6 separate regions of the Homo sapiens genome follow, and all the other regions are linked to region 5. Evidence: promoter capture Hi-C in 16 types of primary human blood cells and fetal thymus (Javierre and others, 2016). All regions are on one chromosome and are shown on one strand. The core of a region is centred on a gene start or on the middle of the fragment in contact, and the rest is flanking DNA. Distances in the headings are between cores, read along the strand shown.

What was found. The method cuts DNA at HindIII sites, captures the fragments that hold promoters and counts their contacts. A CHiCAGO score of 5 or more calls a contact.
Region 1: a fragment that was not itself captured here is called in contact with the fragment with the promoter of KLHL41 in region 5 in 1 of 17 cell types (endothelial precursors); the score reaches 5.2 in endothelial precursors.
Region 2: a fragment that was not itself captured here is called in contact with the fragment with the promoter of KLHL41 in region 5 in 1 of 17 cell types (erythroblasts); the score reaches 5.5 in erythroblasts.
Region 3: a contact is called between a fragment that was not itself captured here and the fragment with the promoter of KLHL41 in region 5, in 4 of 17 cell types (total B cells, erythroblasts, total CD4 T cells and 1 more). The highest score is 8.0, in total B cells.
Region 4: a fragment that was not itself captured here is called in contact with the fragment with the promoter of KLHL41 in region 5 in 1 of 17 cell types (non-activated CD4 T cells); the score reaches 5.8 in non-activated CD4 T cells.
Region 6: a fragment that was not itself captured here is called in contact with the fragment with the promoter of KLHL41 in region 5 in 3 of 17 cell types (fetal thymus, activated CD4 T cells and naive CD4 T cells); the score reaches 6.9 in fetal thymus.

The regions. Positions count from the first base shown.
Region 1 is chr2:169,802,029-169,805,411 of GRCh38, reverse strand. The region is part of intron 2 of SSB (small RNA binding exonuclease protection factor La); the gene reads right to left. Among named protein-coding and RNA genes, the nearest start is that of SSB, 4.8 kb to the right of the region's middle. The HindIII fragment of the contact is 2,950 bases long and covers 1-2,778 here.
Region 2 is chr2:169,785,942-169,789,085 of GRCh38, reverse strand. No RefSeq gene overlaps it. Among named protein-coding and RNA genes, the nearest start is that of SSB, 11 kb to the left of the region's middle. The HindIII fragment of the contact is 492 bases long and covers 1,060-1,551 here.
Region 3 is chr2:169,901,653-169,904,844 of GRCh38, reverse strand. All of the region lies in intron 8 of UBR3 (ubiquitin protein ligase E3 component n-recognin 3), which reads right to left. Among named protein-coding and RNA genes, the nearest start is that of UBR3, 76 kb to the right of the region's middle. The HindIII fragment of the contact is 3,598 bases long and covers 1-3,192 here.
Region 4 is chr2:170,012,258-170,015,576 of GRCh38, reverse strand. It overlaps UBR3 (ubiquitin protein ligase E3 component n-recognin 3), which reads right to left. Exons shown (of 39, transcript NM_172070.4): 30 at 211-296. Among named protein-coding and RNA genes, the nearest start is that of MYO3B, 160 kb to the left of the region's middle. RefSeq lists an enhancer at 922-2,480. The HindIII fragment of the contact is 1,569 bases long and covers 1,245-2,813 here.
Region 5 is chr2:169,508,340-169,511,474 of GRCh38, reverse strand. It overlaps KLHL41 (kelch like family member 41), which reads right to left and starts at 1,773. Exons shown (of 6, transcript NM_006063.3): 1 at 587-1,773. The coding sequence starts at 1,696. The HindIII fragment of the contact is 4,398 bases long and covers 1-1,984 here.
Region 6 is chr2:169,881,445-169,885,042 of GRCh38, reverse strand. The region is part of intron 5 of UBR3 (ubiquitin protein ligase E3 component n-recognin 3); the gene reads right to left. Among named protein-coding and RNA genes, the nearest start is that of UBR3, 56 kb to the right of the region's middle. The HindIII fragment of the contact is 707 bases long and covers 1,277-1,983 here.

The DNA.
Region 1 (3,383 bases), core at 54-2,553, 290 kb before region 5:
CTCTACAGTACCAAGTTCTGTTATTTAAAAATACATAAGTTACAAAAGGCAAAACACTTTCCCCAAATATACAATAATGTTTACAAATTAGCAAAAAGATAAAACTAAAATGTCAATTACTAAAATAGTGTAACAGATGTGTCAATAGACTAGAAAACCTTAAAGAAGAATATATTTAAAGATTATATGAAAAGGCTCTTGCAAATCAGTGTGGAAAGAACAGATGGTTAAATAAAAAGAACTGGAAGAAATTGGTTAATCACTCAATTCTTATTTTTTTTTGAGACAGAGTCTTACTCTGTCGCTCAGGCTGGAGTGCAGTGGCATGAACTCAGCTTGCCGCAACCTCCGCTTCCCAGGTTCAAGTGATTCTCCTGCCTCAGCCTCCTGAGTAGCTGGGATTACAGGCATGTACCACCACGCCCAGCGAATTTTTGTTATTTTTAGTAGAGACAGGGTTTTACCATGTTGGCCTTGAACTCCTGATCTCAAGCGATCTGCCCACCTCGGCCTCCCAAAGTGCTGGGATTGCAGGCATGAGCCACCACACCTGCCCTTCTAATTTTTTAAAATTAAAAAATAAGGGACGGGGCCAGGCACGGTGCCGCACGCCTGTAATCCCTGCACTTTGGGAGGTCAAGAGATTGAGACCACCCTGGCCGACATGGTCAAACCCCGTCTCTACTAAAAATACAAAAATTAGCTGCACATAGTGGCACACACCTGTAGTCCCAGCTACTCAGGGGGCTGGGGCAGAAGAATCATTTGAAACCGGGAGGCAGAGGCTGCAGTGAGCCAAGATTGTGCCACTGCATTCCAGCCTGACAAAAGAGTGAGACTCCATCTCAAAAAAGGGGGTGGGGGGCCAGGAGTGGTGGTTCATGCCTAATCCCAGCACTTTAGGAGGCTGAGGTGGGTGCATTGCTTGAGTCTAGGAGTTCAAGACCAGCCTGGGCAACATGGCAAGACCCCAGCTCTCCAAAAAATAAATAAATAAATAAAATAAATAAGAAATAGAGGTACGTGCCTCTAGTCCCAGCTCAGGAAGCTGAAGTGGGAGGATTGCTTAAGCCTGGCAGGTTGAAGCTGCAGTGAGGCATAATTGTGCCACTGTACTCCAGCCTGGGCAACAAAGTAAGACGCTGCCTCAAAAAAAAAAAAAAAAAAAAAAGTTAAAGTAAATGTTTCTCAAATTTAAGCATAGAGGAACTCTCAATATACAAGCCAAGGAAAAACCCAAGTATGACTATTTGGAATGCCAGAAGTAACATAAAAAGTAAAAGACAAACAAATTTTGTCAAGAATTCTTACAAACAAAGAAGAAGGGTAAAAAGAGAACACCCTAATAGAAAACAGTTAAAGGATATTTTATTGGCCTCGCACGGTGGCCCAAGCCCATAATCCCAGCACTTTGGGAGGCTGAGGCGGGTCAATTTCTTGAGGCCAGAAGTTCGACAACAGACTGGCCAAAGTGGTGAAACCCTGACTCTACTAAAAATACAAAAATTAGCCACACATGGTGGTGCACGCCTGTAATCCCAACTACTCGGATGGCTGAGGCACAAGACTAGCTTGAACCCGGGAGGTGGAGGTTGCAGTGAGCTGAGATCACCGCCACTGTACTCCAGCCTGAGAGGAGAGCAATACTGTCTCTCTGTCTTAAAAAAAAAAAAGACACTATTTTTCAGGGATCGGGTCTTGCTTTGTTGCCCAGACTGGAATGCAGTGGTGCAACCACAGCTCACTGCAGCCTGAAACTCCCGGGCTCAATTGATCTTCCTCCTCAGCCTTCCAAGTAACTAGGACGACAAGCACATGCCACCATGCCCAGCTAATGATTTTTTTAAAAATTATAAAAAATAGGCCAAGCGCAATAGCTCATGCCTGTAATCCCAGCACTTTGGGTGGCCGAAGCAGGTGGATCACCCGAGGTCAGGAGTTCGAAACCAGCCTGACCAACATGGTGAAACCCCGTCTCCACTAAAAATACAAAAATTAGCCGGGCATGGTGGTGTGCACCTATAATCCTAGCTACTTGGGAAGCTGAGGAACCTGGAAGGTGGAGGTTGTGGTGAGCCAAGATCACGCCACTGCACTCTGCACTCCAGCCTGGGAGACAAGAGTGAGACTCCATCACAAAAAATAAATAAATAAATAATGTACTGTAAACTAAAAAAAAAATCCAACCTCATTTCATTGTTAATCAAAGAAATACAATTTAAAGCAACGAGACAGCATTTTTCACCTAACAAACTGGCTAAGATTAGAAAGAAAACCAAGACTACCTAGTATTGACTTGAACACAGAGAACTAGCCATTCAGGTAGATGTAAACTGACAATTATCAGTGTTTTTTAAATGTGCATAATCCTTGAGCCAGTATGGCTCCTTCTAAGAATTTTCCTTGAAGAAATCAATAAACATGTTTACTAAGATTTATATATAAGAATATTTGTCAAAGAATGATTACAGCTAAAAAAATTAGAAACATCCTTCATATTAAAGAGGAGAATGAAAAGATTATTGATTACAAAACTTTTCTCCACAAAAATGCATCCTATATTTAGCGGGGGAAAGGGAAGGAAATAAAATTGTTAGAAATGTACCACTCTGGTGGGGGATGTTTTAAAAGGTGAAGGCACTATGCTTGTGTGGAGGCAGGGGATATATGGAAAATCTCTGTACCTTCTGCTCAATTTTGCTGTAAACCTAGAACTGTTGTAAAATATAAGGTCCACTAAAAAAATTAGTATGAGCATGAAGCAAAGTGTCAAAAGCTTTTAACCTTGATAACCTCAGAAGAGTAGGATTTGAGAGTTAGCAGGTTGTGGGAGAGATACAACCTTTTCTATATACATCTTAGTATTGTTCTAAGTATTAAACACAGAATGAATAATTTCTAATTTTTCTCCTCATAGTCATAAAGAAATTAATACCAAAAAAAGGAACATGAGACATTTTAAATGCAGAGACGTGCAGCTTAAAAAAAAAAAAAAAGCAGTTCTGAGAATTGCAGAAAAACCCCACACCAAACAATATGATCTGAGGGGTTCTTAGCAAGAACCTAAGTTTAGAGATAATTTCCCATGCAACCATTATCGATATTGTAAAGATTTTAAGGTTTTTTTCTTTTTGAGTTTAATTGAACAAAGAACGATTTGCAAATCAGGCAGCCTCCCCAGCCAGAGTATGCTCACGAAGACTCTCAAGTTTCTTCCCCTCGCCCCCTGAAACAGTGTCTCGCTCTGTCATCCAGGCTGGAGTGCAGTGGTATGATCACAGCCACTGCAGCCTCTACCTTCTGGGCTCCATCAATCCTCCCACCTCAGCTTCCCAAGTAGCTAGGACTACAGGTAAACTGCTAACACACTCAGCTAATTTTTA
Region 2 (3,144 bases), core at 56-2,555, 280 kb before region 5:
GTGGTATGATCATGGCTTCCTGCAGCCTTGAACTCCTGGGCTCAGGTGATCCTCCCATCTTAGTTAGCCTCCAGAGTAGCTGGGACTACAAGGCTCATGCTACCACACATACCCAGATAATTTTTAAATTCTTTTGTAGAGACAGAGTCTCACTGTATTGCTCAGGCTGGTCATGAACTCCTGGCCTCAAGCAATCCTCCCACCTTGGTCTTCCAAAGTGCTGGGATTACAGGTGTGAGCTACTGTGCCCTGCCTAGAATGAGATTTTTTTAAAGAAATGAAAATAGCCACATAAAAAATCCAGGTACTAAGCAGATAGAAGATAATTCTCCTTTGATCATATCCACCTTAGGGGTAAGACTATGCTGATCCCTTGAAAATAAAGACAGTAATTAAAAATGATTTTAGAGGAAGTTAAATGTACAGTGAAGTTACTGCCTACACAAGGTTGATGTTACAAACTGTATCAGAGTCTCAGCAAGATTTTTTTTTTTTTTGAGATGGGGTCTCAAACTCTTGGGCTCTATGGATCCTCCCTCCTCAGCCTCCTGACTAGCTGGGATTACAGGTATGTGCTACCATGATCGTCTGGCAGCAGGAAAATGTAATAAACTACTTTTTACAAAGGTGTGGGAAGGGCATAAGTAAATTCTGAGGGATACTGTGGTACCCCAAAGTTAGTAATATTGAGGGCTCCATTACCATCCCAAGGGGAGGGTGGCGGAGCGAAAGGAGGAGCTAGTCACTGGTGAGAAAGACGACTGTACGGAGAGGTCCCTGAGGATGCATCCAAGCCATGCCAACCCTGCAGGAATGGAGCCAGGGGAATGAAGGCTGGAGTGAATGCCCCCCTCCCCCACTCTGTTGTTAGTGCTCTCCTCTGCGTAGATCAGCCTCCTGGTAGAGAAGGAGCTGGTGGAGAATGTATCTGGAGGAGAAAAAGAAGATCTAGCACACAAAACACAGGAAAACACTTAGTCCAAAAAGAGGAAGAGTGGATGTGTGTTACGTACTCAAGATCAGAGAAGGGTTTGCAGTGAAGCCAACAAAGTTTAAGCTTCAGGACCCCTCCATTATATTGGCCCTTTCCAAGGACCTGGGAGGGATCCTAATAATGTGTTCATAAGGTCATATGGTTTTGTTAAATTTGTAAAAGATATTTTAACCAAAATCATCAAACAACTGTTGTTCTTCCATTTCAAATCTCCCTCCATTCCACTTCCCCAGTGTTCAATGGTGCTGAAGTGACACAAGTATTTTGAGTTTCTGTCTAAAAAGAAGTTGAATTGAGAATAAACCACTATAAATGTAATTTGAGCAGGCATTTTTAAACATTTTAATAAGATGTGAAGAAATTACAGTTCCTAGTTTAAGAACTGAAAAAAACAGATAAAATTAATAGAATATGAAGCTAAAGTCATAAACATGAATGACAAAATCAGTGATTATTCTGTATTCAAGAAGCAAATTATAAGAGAGAAGTTTTCAAATCATACCAATATCAGTGATTCATTAAGAATAAATAAATTTCAAAAAAGAAATGAATAAGCTTCTTGGATAGTGTATAATCCAAATAACAAAGTGGAGCAATTCATAAGAATATATTGGAAAAAATTAAAATTTTTTATTATTTGAAAATAATGACCTCTCCCTCTCCCTCTCCCTCTCCCTCTCCCTCTCCCCCTCCCCTCCCCCTCCCCCTCCCCCTCCCCCTCCCCCTCCCTCTCCCTCTCCCCACGGTCTCCCTCTCATGCGGAGCCGAAGCTGGACTGTACTGCTGCCATCTCGGCTCACTGCAACCTCCCTGCCTGATTCTCCTGCCTCAGCCTGCCGAGTGCCTGCGATTGCAGGCACGCGCCGCCACGCCTGACTGGTTTTGGTGGAGACGGGGTTTCGCTGTGTTGGCCGGGCCGGTCTCCAGCCCCTAACCGCGAGTGATCCGCCAACCTCGGCCTCCCGAGGTGCCGGGATTGCAGACGGAGTCTCGTTCACTCAGTGCTCAATGGTGCCCAGGCTGGAGTGCAGTGGCGTGATCTCGGCTCACTACAACCTCCACCTCCCAGCCACCTGCCTTGGCCTCCCAAAGTGCCGAGATTGCAGCCTCTGCCCGGCCGCCACCCCGTCTGGGAAGTGAGGAGTGTCTCTGCCTGGCCGCCCATCGTCTGGGATGTGAGGAGCCCCTCTGCCCAGCCGCCCAGTCTGGGAAGTGAGCAGCGTCTCCGCCCGGCCGCCATCCCATCTAGGAAGTGAGGAGCGCCTCTTCCCAGCCGCCATCACATCTAGGAAGTGAGGAGCGTCTCTGCCCGGCCGCCCATCGTCTGAGATGTGGGGAGCGCCTCTGCCCCACCGCCCCATCTGGGATGTGAGGAGCGCCTCTGCCCGGCCGAGACCCCGTCTGGGAGGTGAGGAGCGTCTCTGCCCGGCCGCCCCGTCTGAGAAGTGAGGAGACCCTCTGCCTGGCAACCACCCCGTCTGAGAAGTGAGGAGCCCCTTCGCCCGGCAGCTGCCCCGTCTGAGAAGTGAGGAGCCTCTCCGCCCAGCAGCCACCCCATCTGGGAAGTGAGGAGCGTCTCCGCCCGGCAGCCACCCCGTCCGGGAGGGAGGTGGGGGGGGTCAGCCCCCCCGCCCGGCCAGCCGCCCCATCCGGGAGGGAGGTGGGGGGTCAGCCCCCCGCCCGGCCAGCCGTGCCATCCGGGAGGGAGGTGGGGGGGTCATGCCCCCCGCCCGGCCAGCCGCCCGGTCCGGGAGGTGATGGGGCGCCTCTGCCCGGCCGCCCCTACTGGGAAGTGAGGAGCCCCTCTGCCCGGCCAGCCGCCCCGTCCGGGAGGGAGGTGGGGGGGTCAGCCCTCCGCCCGGCCAGCCGCCCCGTCTGGGAGGTGAGGGGCGCCTCTGCCCGGCCGCCCCTACTGGGAAGTGAGGAGCCCCTCTGCCCGGCCAGCCGCCCCGTCCGGGAGGGAGGTGGGGGGGTCGGCCCCCCGCCCGGCCAGCCGCCCCGTCCGGGAGGGAGGTGGGGGTGTCGGCCCCCCGCCCGGCCAGCCGCCCCGTCCGGGAGGGAGGTGGGGGGGGTCAGCCCCCCTGCCCGGCCAGCCGCCCCGTCCGGGAGGTGAGGGGCGCTTTTGCCCGGCCGCCCCTACTGGGAAGTGA
Region 3 (3,192 bases), core at 334-2,833, 390 kb before region 5:
ATATGTCCAATATATGACATGATACTGAGGTAGCTGTATGTTTATAAAACCTTATTTTCTTGATTCTAATGATATAATGCAGTATTTTCTGTTGAAATCAATAAAAAATTTTTATCCCTAGATTAATCTCATTTCATCTTATCAACCAAATCTGTATGATTTCAAGAGATGTACATTTAATTGCTTTCTTCTATGCAAAAAATACATCAATACAATCTTTAGCAAACAATATTTCAAAGATAAAAAACACACATTTAAAAAAAAGAAACACACACACACACCAACTTCTTAAGCCTTGAAAAAAAAATCCTCAAAGTTTAAATACATCATTGGGGGTGGTGGGAGGATAGGCTTGTACGAAATCTTTATCATTAAAAATTATTAGTATATATGCATTCACTCTCTTTAACCTATTCCAACTTCACTGACTCACTGGACTAGGAAGTTTCCATTCCCACTGTAAAACATATTAATACCCATAATACATGGAATGCTCAAGGCTCATAGCTCATTCCCTGTACACAGGCTGGGGCGTATGGTTACCTAGAGTCAATTTTTGTTTCTATTCATGCTAATTGTTCTTTTTATCATAATTACACAATTTAGATCAAAAGTATATGAACTAATGACATATGAAAGCACAGAGAGGTATTACAGAAATTGAATCATATGCTTTTGAGAGACAATAAAATAAAAACAAGTGCCAGGAAAAAAAGCTAAAAAACCTTGGGACAGAAAAATCATAAAAGCCTAAGTATATTTTACACTCAGATTGCTTTATATTCTAACTCTATTTTAAAGAGATTAAAATTGGATCCACAGATGATGCTTTATAGATGTGCTATTTATAAAAAAGATGAGCGAGAACTCCAGTCAAGGAAATCATATCCTGAAAATACTTTGCCCAAAGTTAAAAGCCTGGAGAATGAACACACAGTTCTGTGTTTTAAGTTAAAATACAATGTTTAAGGTATATATATATTTTTTCAAAGATGGGGGTCTCACTATGTTGCCCACGCTGGACTCAAACTCCTGGGCTCAAGCAGTCTTCCCACCTCAGCCTCCTCAGTAGCTGGGATTACAAGTATGTGCCACCACACCCGGCTCATATTTTTTAAATGATTCCTCACTTTAACCAACTTATTCAACTACCTATCTACCTGTCATACTCATCAGTCAGGAGGGCCTCTACTGCACTTTTTAATTTCCACACATTAAACTTAGGTTTCAGTCCACAGAATTATTTTACCAAATATTAAATAAGTTTAACAATATCTAAGAACAGGGTCCACTGAAGTTAAGTACACTCTCTTTCAGTACTTCTCAATGGACGAGAGAGGGTCTAACTCAATGAGGAAGTAAGGACTAGGGGCTTTTTACAAATTATTTATACTAACCCCTGGCCATGACTGACAACTACTGTTCCACTTCTGAGCTAGTGAGCCATTGATATTGATGCAACAGTGCTAAGGAATGTTGGGATTTTTTTTAAGTTAAAAATTGAGAATCACTGTTCTATATAATTGAAACCAGAGGATGAATAAGCAGAATATAATTAATCAAACTCACTATTTTCATGACACTGCTTAAATACTACTGTTCTTGTAAAAAACGCCTTGGAATCATTAATGAAATAAAATGATTAGGACTTCTATTTTTACTCAAACTGGTACTTTCCTCATTACAGATATAAAGAGCAATGATTCAGTGTAAAATTAAATTCACTCATCAACAAATATTTATTGAGCACCTACTAAGGGTCAAGTTTTCAACTAATCTCTGAGAATAAAGTGATAAATAAATCAAGATTTAGATGATCTCTGTCTTCATGGAGATTAACATCTAAGAAGGCAGAATGTGATAAGGGCTGCAATGGGAAAAGTAGAGGGACTCATAAGAACAAATAAAGCGAGACTACAATTCAAGAAAAGACTTGGCTGGCCATGGTGGCTCACGCCTGTAATCCCAGCACTTTGGGAGGCCAAAATGGGCGAATCACCTGAAGTCAGGAGTTCGAGACCAGCCTCGCCAACATGGTAAAACCCCCACCTCTACTAAAAACACAAAGTTAGCTGGGCGTGGTGGCAGGCACCTGTAATCCCAACTACTCAGGAGGCTGAGGCAGGAGAATCACTTGAACCCGGGAGGCGGAGGTTGCAGTGAGCCGAGATTGTGCCACTGCACTCCAGCCTAAGTGACAGAGCAAGGCTCCATCTCAAAAAAAAAAAAAAGACTCTCCTGAGGAAGTGAAGTTTAAACTGAGGCCTATAAAATAAAGCAGGAATTAGGATTAACCAGATAAAACTAGTGATGGTGGAGCAGATGGTGCTATACGCGGAAGGAGCAGTACCTAAGAAAAGGTTAGAATCACTTGAAGAAAGAATACAGAGGATGCATGGTACAAATGAGGCTACAGGGTCTTATAAACCAGCGTCAGGACTTTAGAGTTCACATGAAGAGAATGGAAAGCCACTAGGGGGTTTTAAGAGAGAGAACATTATAAGAAGTGTAATGTAAAAAGTGACTGAAGGAGAGTGACAACAACTAGAGATAAGAGGCTTAGAGATGGCCATGGTTTGAACTATGGTGGTGGCAAAAAGATGCAGTGATGAAGAGGCTATGTAAAGATATTCAGAAGATTTGAAGGACAGAGTTGGTAATGTGTGCTATATCTGCAAGGAATAAAAAGAAGTCAAAGACAACTCCTAGGTTTTTAGGCTGCACAGCTGTTTAGATAGTTAGACAGTGGAATCAAAACACACATTCATGTGCTCATGTACATACACACACACACAAGATAATGTAAAAGCAGCCAGATTAATGGAGCAATAATGAGTCTTCGCTATGGACACTGTGTGTTTGAGGTGTTTATAGACATCCAAACAATATAGTTCAATAAGTAGTTTGATATGCAGGGAGGAAAGGCAGTCTGGGATTATGAGCATCTACAGACATTCCTATGTCATACAACACATGGTTTTAGATTCCACTTTACAAAGACTGTTTCAAAAGATAAATTCTAAAATTTCTGGGACATGAAAAATTATGAGCTATGTTTGGAACCACAAAGCATATGGTATAAAATTGAATATAAAAAAGTAAAAGTAGAAGGTAGGAATCACATACTACTATAAGGCTTTTTCCCTTTAGTCTTCAGCTATCGCTGTGGCCAAATTCTCATTGTATCAGCTC
Region 4 (3,319 bases), core at 780-3,279, 500 kb before region 5:
ATTTATGTGCTAGGTAATCATAATCTAGAAAGAGCTAAATATCCATATGATTCTTCCAAGTACAAGATTAGCCATTTAAAGTATATATCACTATCTAAATAGATCATATATAACAGACAAAATTTGAAATATACCAAAATGTCACTTTTCCTGTCAATGCTTCCAAAAATGACAGAATTTTTTTTAAATTTAGCAGTATTTAGTACTTACTTAAACAAGACCTTTTGCCAGCTGTGCTTGCACCACCTGAACACAAATTGCCTCCTCGATGAATCAATTCAAGTTCTAAATTGGTTCTGTAAGTAAAACATTATATCTCAGTCATTAAACTGAAGATTCTTTATTAATCTGCTTTATTGACATGTCTGAATCAACCTAAAAAATAAAGTTCTTCAACTTTATTTTTTGCAAAAGCAGTTTTTATGTTGTATCAGTAATAATCATATTTATCTGATATTTAGAAATACAAAGGGAACAATTTATCCATCCTTACTTATATGTTCATATTTACACCTGCAAAAAATTGCACACATCATGGTGTAATTGTTGCAAAGTCCCAACTCTTGGCACATACTAAAAACTAGGCCTTAAGAAAAAAAAAAAAACTGCAACATATTTCATAAACCTGCATATGAATATGAAGAAAGAATTTTTACTCCAACGTCAGCCACTGTGTAGGTGGTTATTGCCATATAAAACACAAAGGCATACCAATTTTTCTATCAGAGAAATGGTTATCATTCATTGGAGGTTAGATGGTATCTGGAAATCAATATTAAGAAACAAAATCACTAATATAGAAATGGCTATGAACAACACATATAATTTAACAGCAGTCTCTCTTACGGACTTCTAAAACTAGTTTCATTAAAATACACTGTGTAACTACTGATATGGCTAACCATCAATACTGTTCATACAGACCTGAAATTGCAAGGTATTTAGCAATTATTAGCTTACAAAATAGCAATATTTAATAAATCAACATTTCAAAAATCAAACTAATGCAGAATCTAAGGATTTACCCAAAAACAGTAACAGTAAAAGAACCAATTAATTATGCCAAAATAAATGACAACTCTGAGAAATAATTTAAATTGTATTTTTCTTCAACAGTATGAATACACTTAGACATACCTTTATTTTCTACAACCAAAACTGACCCTAATATGCATTTGACCCTAATAGTGAGATACTGTCTCCCACTTAAAAAAAAAAAAAAGAAAAAAAAACAGTTTCAAGCTTACTCTTTGCAAGTGAATTCATGAAAGACTATTATCCTATTTTATTTAAAACAAAACATTTTGCACTGATTTGGCTGAATTTTGAACATGGACTTTTTTGGAGATTATATTTCCATGTATTTACTTATAAATGCAAATTGTTAAAGAATATTAATATTCCTAAGTCTGTACATTTGCCACCCATTTCTAAAGGAATGCTTTAATCCTCTCTACTCAGGGTGGGAGAAAAAGCAATTTAACACCGATAACGTTCCAGCTCAGAGCTCCATCTGGTTGCTGCTGATAAGGGCATCTGTGTGACAAGGGAATTTTCCACCCTTCAGGCGATTTGCATTGCTCACTGAACTTCTAAAAACCTACCAGCAAGGAAGCAGGGACAAGGATTTCATACTAGTGGACAGAAAGCGAGCGGAGACCAGCATGTGTTCCTTCATCAAGGGAATATAAATGAGATCAATACATTTTGTTTTCACAAATCTTCTGTTGCCTAATCTGTAGAAAAAAATTAATGGCTATATTCTCTTATAAAAACTAAGATTTCCTAGATAGTACTTTTAAGAGAGCTAACCAGAAACACAAACAATACTTACAAATGAATGTCAAAACCAGAATGTCAACATTTCACCATATTTGCAAAAATATTTATTAAAATATAAATATAAGAACAATTCTGTTTTCTCAATCCCCAAATATAACGGATGACAAACATATTACTAAGAATTTCATTGTAAAGAATTCTCGAAAAAAACTAGTAAAATCTAATTAATTATTCCAGATTATGACTGGAAGATCTCCTATGCAATATTCTTTCTGAATTAAAAATCAAAAACTACCTATCCAAAGGATTAATGTGTAATAATATCTAGGATTTTACATTTCTTAAAAATTTTTTTTGAGAGATGAAGTCTTGCTGTGTTGCCCAGGTTGCACTTGAACTCCTGTGCTCAAGCAATCCTCCTGCCTCAGCCTCCCAAGTATCCAGGAATAGGCGCACACCACTGTATCCAGCAATATCTAGGATTTTAAAAATCAATATGGCTCTAAATACCAACTTTTCTTTGTTTCATATATGTCAAAATTGGTCCTTTGAGACATGCTAAAGAACACACAAATGGGTCATATGTCCCATGTCCGACTGCTGAAAATCACACAGCAATATTATGTTTCTTTCCTCCTCAATGAATGATGCAAAAATAAAGATATGCTGGGAGTGGAAGTTTTCCGAGCTTTTTGCTGTCAAAGAAAAGCAGACTCTTTTCTATATTTTCTAACACAAATACATTCAAATTAGTTTGGAAGAAAAAAAAGAGGCGAAAATCTCTACATTTGAAAGAATGATGAGAAAGACTGTTTAAAGCCTACCCTAGTGGCCACCTAGATGTGCACATTAAAAACCCCTCTAACTATGCTCCAGCTTCTTTTTGCATGACCAAAGTATGCTGTCCTCTCAATCCCCCCATTCAACACTAACTTCTATTTTAGACTATAATTTGAAAAGCAAACGTGTGTACACACACTACACACCCCACATTCTCAAACACACGTTGGTTTGGTGAAAAGGGCAAAGCTTCTGGAAAGAGATCTAGGTTCAAGGCCTGAGTCTACCACTCAGTAGTTGAGCAAGTTACTCAATTTCTCAGGGGGAAAAAAAAAAAAAAACCAGTATCTTCATCCATACCACAGCCTATATTATACAAGAGGCAATTCAACTTTTAACTTCTCCAGGAAGCTTTCCTGGGACAGAAAGAAGGACTTACACATATTTTATATTTCAATTTGCTCATCTTCCCTTTAGAAGTTCTACAGTGCTTTCTCTATATGATATTTTTAAAAACAAATTATATTCTGTTATATAGATTGATGTTATATTAGTTCCATCTCTCCAACTAAACTGTAAATTCATGGAGAACAGGGACTATTTCAAATATAGCTTCTAAATCCCCAGGGTACCTGATAAGATGCTTAAAAAGAAAAAAAATGGGAACTGACAACATCTTTCTTTTGATATGTAACCAATTATAAGATTCTCTTTAGCCCTTGCAGTTTATTTTCTTTCTTTTCCTAACTCTTCCATT
Region 5 (3,135 bases), core at 524-3,023:
AGAAAATCTGACCAATTATTACTTCTTTATAATGGATAAGAACTTTGATTTAGGGAAACTATTTGGGGAAAGACATTAACTATTTTTAATAGGTAAGAGTATACAAGATTAAATTTAGTTTTTACAGCAGGGGGTGGTGGCTCACACCGGTAATCCCAGCACTTTGGGAAGCCAAACTGGGAGTATTGCTTGAGCCCAGGAGTTCGAGACCAGCCGGGGCAACATAGTGAGAGCCCATCTCTGCTAAGAAAAAATAAATTTAGTTTTTACTAAAATACTGGGCTTTGAGGGATTACAGTCACGATCATCTATAAACAAGGCATTTTTGGTAAAATAGTATAAAGAACATCTTAAGTCATTAAACATGAATTAGAACCTCATTATTCACCAAACTTTTTATTACACATTAACAAAGCAGTCAAATATTTTTCTGTCAACGCTCTATACAGCAAAAGTGCAAGGGACTGGAATAGGACATCAATTAGAGTAAAATGCAAGCAGCTTGAATAATTCACAAATTGGCTAACTGGATGGTGAGTAACAGCCTTCCCTTTAAGCAACTACATATACAAAAAGTCCTTCTTACCTGGAAGAAGTATGACTGTAGAGGTTGATCCTTATTTTCTTCATCCACATATAGTCCTCCTACCACATATATCTGATTTTGCTGGGTAACAATGCTGGAATGATTTCTGGGAATCTGCTCAGCCAGTGCAGTAAGGTAGCATTCATTTTCCGTGGGGTCATAAGCCACTGCTGCTGTGTCATTAACCAAGAGGATGAGGTCTTTTACAAACATTCCATGCCTGGGAATGTCATTCAGGTAACCAGGAAGTAAATCTTCATCACCAACATCACCATTCACCTCACCAGCCCCAGTCTTCGCGGCATTTTTGCTAGGTTCTGGGAGTTTGCCTGCGAAAGCATCTTTTAGAACTTTGATTTTTTTCTGGAGGTCTGGGTTGCTTTTAATTATATCATCTTTCTCAACATGATCCTTAAAATATTTTTCTGTCATAAGGCGAAAACGGATACAATCAAACACTTCACTAAGGTTTTTAACCCTGTTTTCCTTGTCTGTTCGCACCCATTTCATCACTGCCTCAAATACTGCTTCTTCTTTTTCTACATTTAGGCTGTCATTTGAAATGACTGAGATCAGTTCCTGTGGAGACAGTTGCATAAAGTCCTCTTCCTTACAAATCTGTACAAAGCGATCAGACACAAATTCACGGGCAGAAATGGCGAGTCTCGGGCAGTCAAGAAGAAGTCCTAATCTTAGGATGGCTAGACAGTTACCAGGAGCAAGTCTTTTCTGAAGATAAGAAACGCAGACAGTAAACACTGAGGGGATCTGAAAGCGGCTGGCCAATGCAAAAATATCTTGCACATTTCCGTCATTGAGATCAATACTGGCAGAGTACAGGTATTTGATGATTAAATCAAGTATAGCAGGATCCACATTGTCTAGCACTACCTCCTTTTTTTTCGCCTCATCAATTTCAGATAAAAAGTACTCACGGAAGTAAGGACTACAAGCTGACAAAATCAATCTGTGGCAAGGAAGACTTTTGTCACCTGCTTTTAGGGTGCAATCGATGAATTTTTTCTCATCCAGGAGATCTTTTAGACCATCCTGAAGAAGGGTGGATTGGTAAAGCCGCAGTTCCTCTGCAAGTTCCCGCTGGGAATCCATTCTGTGAGAAACCTGGGTAAGGAAGGGGACACTGAAGGCCTTAGCTCCTTGCAGCACACAGGTCTAGCTGTAAAAAGGCAGATCAGTGTGCTTTGCCCAGCTTGAAGCCTTTGCAATTTAATCCCACTAGCTAAATATAGATACCAACTCTAACAACGGGAATTTAGGAGAGCTGGCTTGGAAAGAAGAGTTGTTCTTGCAGCTGTTATAGATTGAAAGTAACAACTGGAACTTTTAATCACTAGGGAAACAGCTAAGAAACAAGACATTTAAGTGAAGTTGAAAGCTTAAAAATACATAACACATTAGAAGATATACTAATAAAGGCTACTACAAGAAAATGTTTATTGAATTAACAGAAAAATGAATCATAAAAATGAGTCACTCCTCTAAATATGTTCTAGTGTCAAGCTACTTGGCTCTCTGAATTAATGATGCAAAGGTCAAGAATATGAGATGTGTTCATTTGAATACTCATAAGCAAGATCTCATTTCCAATAATTGTTAACATACAAATTTTTACTTTCTACTCAGAACAGTGGGATATAGATATTTCTTTTAGAAGTAGTAAACTTAAAGATGTTTACTTCTGTACTAGTTTTACAAAACCTTTAATGTTGCCATGATAATTGAAAAAAGAAATGCAGAGGAATTGCTAATTTTCTAAAACATTCCAAATTATTCTTACATGGAAAAACTGTAATTAATATTGAATTAAATTATAAAATTATTTATTCATATCCTGCCTTGTCATACAAATGATCTAATGTGGCAAACGATAATAAGGTAAAATAAAAGCAAAAGGTTAAAAGGAATCACAGAGCCAGAAAAAATAATTAAAAGTCAATCTAGGGAACGAAAAAGTCCACACACATTCAAATAAGATCACAAAAGATAATCTGTAATTTTAAATATCAAAAATTATCATTCATTAAATAAAACGTGAAAAATAGAACAGATATAACCCCATGAGAACAATGTTATCACTAAACACAGCAAAATCAAGATGAACTCCTACAATGGTCATAGAGAACAGCCCCCCCTTTTTTTAAAGAGTATATAACTGGGGACATAACGTAGGCTGTTGATTATAATAGAATACCATATTAATTATGGAGGTAGAAGTAATGATTTGAAAGAAAATCGGTCCTTTGTTTATATATAGATGGTATAATATACTTCATTAAATACTTTCATTTATTTATTTATTTTTGAGACAGAGTCTCGCTCTGTCACCCAGGCTGGAGTACAATGGCGCAGTCTCGGCTCACTGCAACTTCTGCCTCCCGGGTTCAAGCAATTCTCTTGCCTCAGCCTCCCGAGTAGCTGGGATTACAGGCACCCGCCACCATGCCTGGCTAATTTTTGTATTTTTAGTAGAGACAGGGTTTCATCATGTTGGCCAGGCTGGTCTCGAACTGCTGACCTCGCGATCCGCC
Region 6 (3,598 bases), core at 381-2,880, 370 kb before region 5:
AAAATGCAACATGACATTAAAAGCCTTAATGAATATTTAAATGGCATAAAATAGTTATTTGTTCAAGAACATCTATATTTAAGTACTCTTCCTCTATCAACCTCTTTCCATCTATCTTATCCCTTCATCTATTTTCACCTTAATCTATTCTATTCTATAATAATTATTGCATTTTGACCATTTTAATATATGTTAAAAAATACTTTGAGAAGAACAAAAGTAAAAGCAAATTTTAAATAATAATCATATTCATTTTTAAAGGGGTTGATGGAACTTCTTATCTTTCTTTCCAAATAAATCGCGCAAACTCAATTAACATTGCTTCTTGCTTATGATGCCTAGCCACCAACAGAATTTTTATTCCATGTAGGCCATTAGTCCTAATAAAATAATGTTTTCCACTAATAAACAAAAAACAAACCAGATTAAAACAGGATACACAACCCCAAAAAGAGACTAGCGGAAGAGTCACAGTAGTTTCATAGCCTCATTAGTAATTAAATTCAAAAATATATTTTGTTCTTTAACCTACAATGAATACTAATAAAATTTCAGTATATTTTCTTCTGCTTTACAAAGTTAAAAGTCAACTCTTGGCTGGGAGCCATGGCTCACGCCTGTAAACCCAGCAGTTTGGGAGGCCAGGGCAGATTACGAGGTCAGGAGATCAAGACCATCCTGGCTAACACGGAAAAACCCCGTCTCTACTAAAAATACAAAAAATTAGCCGGGTGTGGTGGCGGGTGCCTGTAGTCCCAGCTACTCGGGAGGCTGAGGCAGAATGGCGTGAACCTGGGAGGCAGAACTTGCAGTGAGCCAAGATCACGCCACTGTACTCCAGCCTGGGCGACAGTGCAAGACTCCGTCTCAAAAAAAAAAAAAAAAAGTCAGCTCTCCAAAATACCTTACAGGCTGGGCACGGTGGCTCACGCCTCTAATCCCAGAACTTTGGGAGGCCAAGGTGGGTGAATCACCTGAGGTCAGGAGTTCAAGACCAGCCTGTCCAACATGGCAAAACCCCATCTCTACTAAAAATACAAAAATTAGCTGGGTGTGGTGGCACGCGCCTGTAGTCACAGCTAGTCGGGAGGCTGAGACGGGAGAATCACTTGAACCTGGGAAGCAGAGGTTCAGTGAGCCAAGATCACACCACTACACTCCAGCCTGGGCAAAAGAGTAAGACTCTGTCTCAAAATAAATAAAATAACCTTATAATCTAAATATAAGTTTTTATTCTCTTGATGTACAATAGTAACTACTATACTTAAGGAAAGCTTTGATTTTCATTAAAACTCTGTAATAGCCATTACTGGCTAAAATGGCATTACTTTATCAGTTGTATTTTTTCCCAAGAGATAGTGCCACTAAAATAGATAGAAAATTTATAAGAAATTATTGGTACATTATTTAGCTATTATCACTACCCACTATTGGATTATCAACTGAATCCAGGGAAAAGAATGACTAATGTCATATCCTGGTTGTGGAAGTTTTAAAACATGTTTACAAATTCTCTGACATTCTTCCCATCAAGAGGTGGGATCTATATCACCTCCCACTGAATCTGGACATACTTTCGCAACTCGTTTATAACAAAAAGGATGAAGTGACACCACATACCTTCCAAGACTAGCTCAGAAAAGGCTCTACAGCTTCTACTCTTGGGCTGTTGGCCTGGGAGAAGTAAGTCACTACTATGTAAGATGTCCAACTTGAGACCACCATGCTGGAGAAACCACATGTCGTCATACTGATCAACAACCAGCTGAGTTCTCGGATGGTCAGCATCAACTATCAGCCCTATGAGTGAGCCATCTTAGATCTCCGTCTCAGTGTGAAGCCCTCAGATGACTATGGCTGCAGCCAACAACTAACTGCAACCACATATGATGACCAAAGTAAGAACTGCCCAGATGCCATTCTCACGTTCCTAAGTCATAAAATTGTGAGCAAAATAAAATGGTAATTTTAAGACATAAAGCTTTGGGCAAATTTGCTGCATAGCAACAGTAATGACAATCATGGTTTATCCACTTTATAGAAAGAACACTTAGACCAGCAGATAGAAGAACTAGTGCCCAATTTCAACTCTACCACTAACTAGACGGCATTCACTAGCCTGAGTGAATCAGTTAATTCTATGGAATTCAGTTTTTTCATCCATAAATAAGAAAGACAAGATGAATTATATAGTCCCTTTTAGCTCAAGCAGTCATAATTTTTATAACCCTTGAATTGCTTGACACTAATTTTCATTTCGTTTTTGTTGTATCACATGACTTTTCTTTTTTTTTTTCTTTTTTTTGAGATGGAGTCTCACTCTGTCACCCAGGCTGAAGTGCAGTGGTGCAATCTCAGCTCTGCAACTTCTGCCTCCAGGTTCAAGGGGTTCTCCTGTCTCAGTGCCCTGAGTAGCTGGGATTACATGCATGTGCCAGCATGTTCAGCTAATTTTTGTATTTTCAGTAGAGATGGGGTTTCACAATGTTGGCCAGGCTGGTGTCAAACTCCTGACTTCAGGTGATCTGCCCGCCTCGGCCTCCCAAAATGCTGGGATTACAGTTATGGGCCACCACACCCAGCTGACTTTTCTAACTCAAGACTTGACAAGTTTAAAACCATAAAGCAAACACCTTATTTTATATATATATATTTTTATATATAATATATATTTACATATATAATATATATTTACATATATATTATATAATACATATATAATATATAAATATATAATATACATAAATATACAATATATAAATATATGATATACAAATATATATAAATATATATACATATACAATATAAATATATGTATATAATATACATATATAAATGTGTATATTATTTATTACACATGCATATTACATATAAATATGATAAATATATATACATATATAATATAAATATATGTATATAATATACATATATAATATAAATATATATGTGTATATATACATACATATATAATTATATTATATGTGTATATATAATATACATATAAATATGCATGTATAATATATAATACATATTATATATTATATAAATATACATATACATATATAATATAATTACATATGTATGTATACATACATATGTAATTATATTATATGTATACATGTATACATATACATATACCTATATGTATACATGTACACATATACCTATATGTATACATATACACATATACGTATATGTATACATGTATACATACATATATAATTATATGTATATTATAACATAAATATAAATATACATATATATTATATTATATATAATTTATTAATATATAATATATATTATATAATATATAATATAAATATACATATACATATATAATTATATATGTATATATGTGTATATATATATATAAAGTATCACTGCACTCTAGCCTGAGAGAGCAAGACCCTATCTCAAAAAAAAAAAAAAGAAACATACGGTAGATACCTCTGGCTAAACAACTCTACTTCAAATTCTTAAGTTTTCAAATGCCTAAATGACCCTATTTTTATCCCTTTGGAAAATATGATCAATATATAAACTATAAAAAGTTTAGCTTTCTGGGGCTGGGCACGGTGGCTCATACCTATAATCCCAG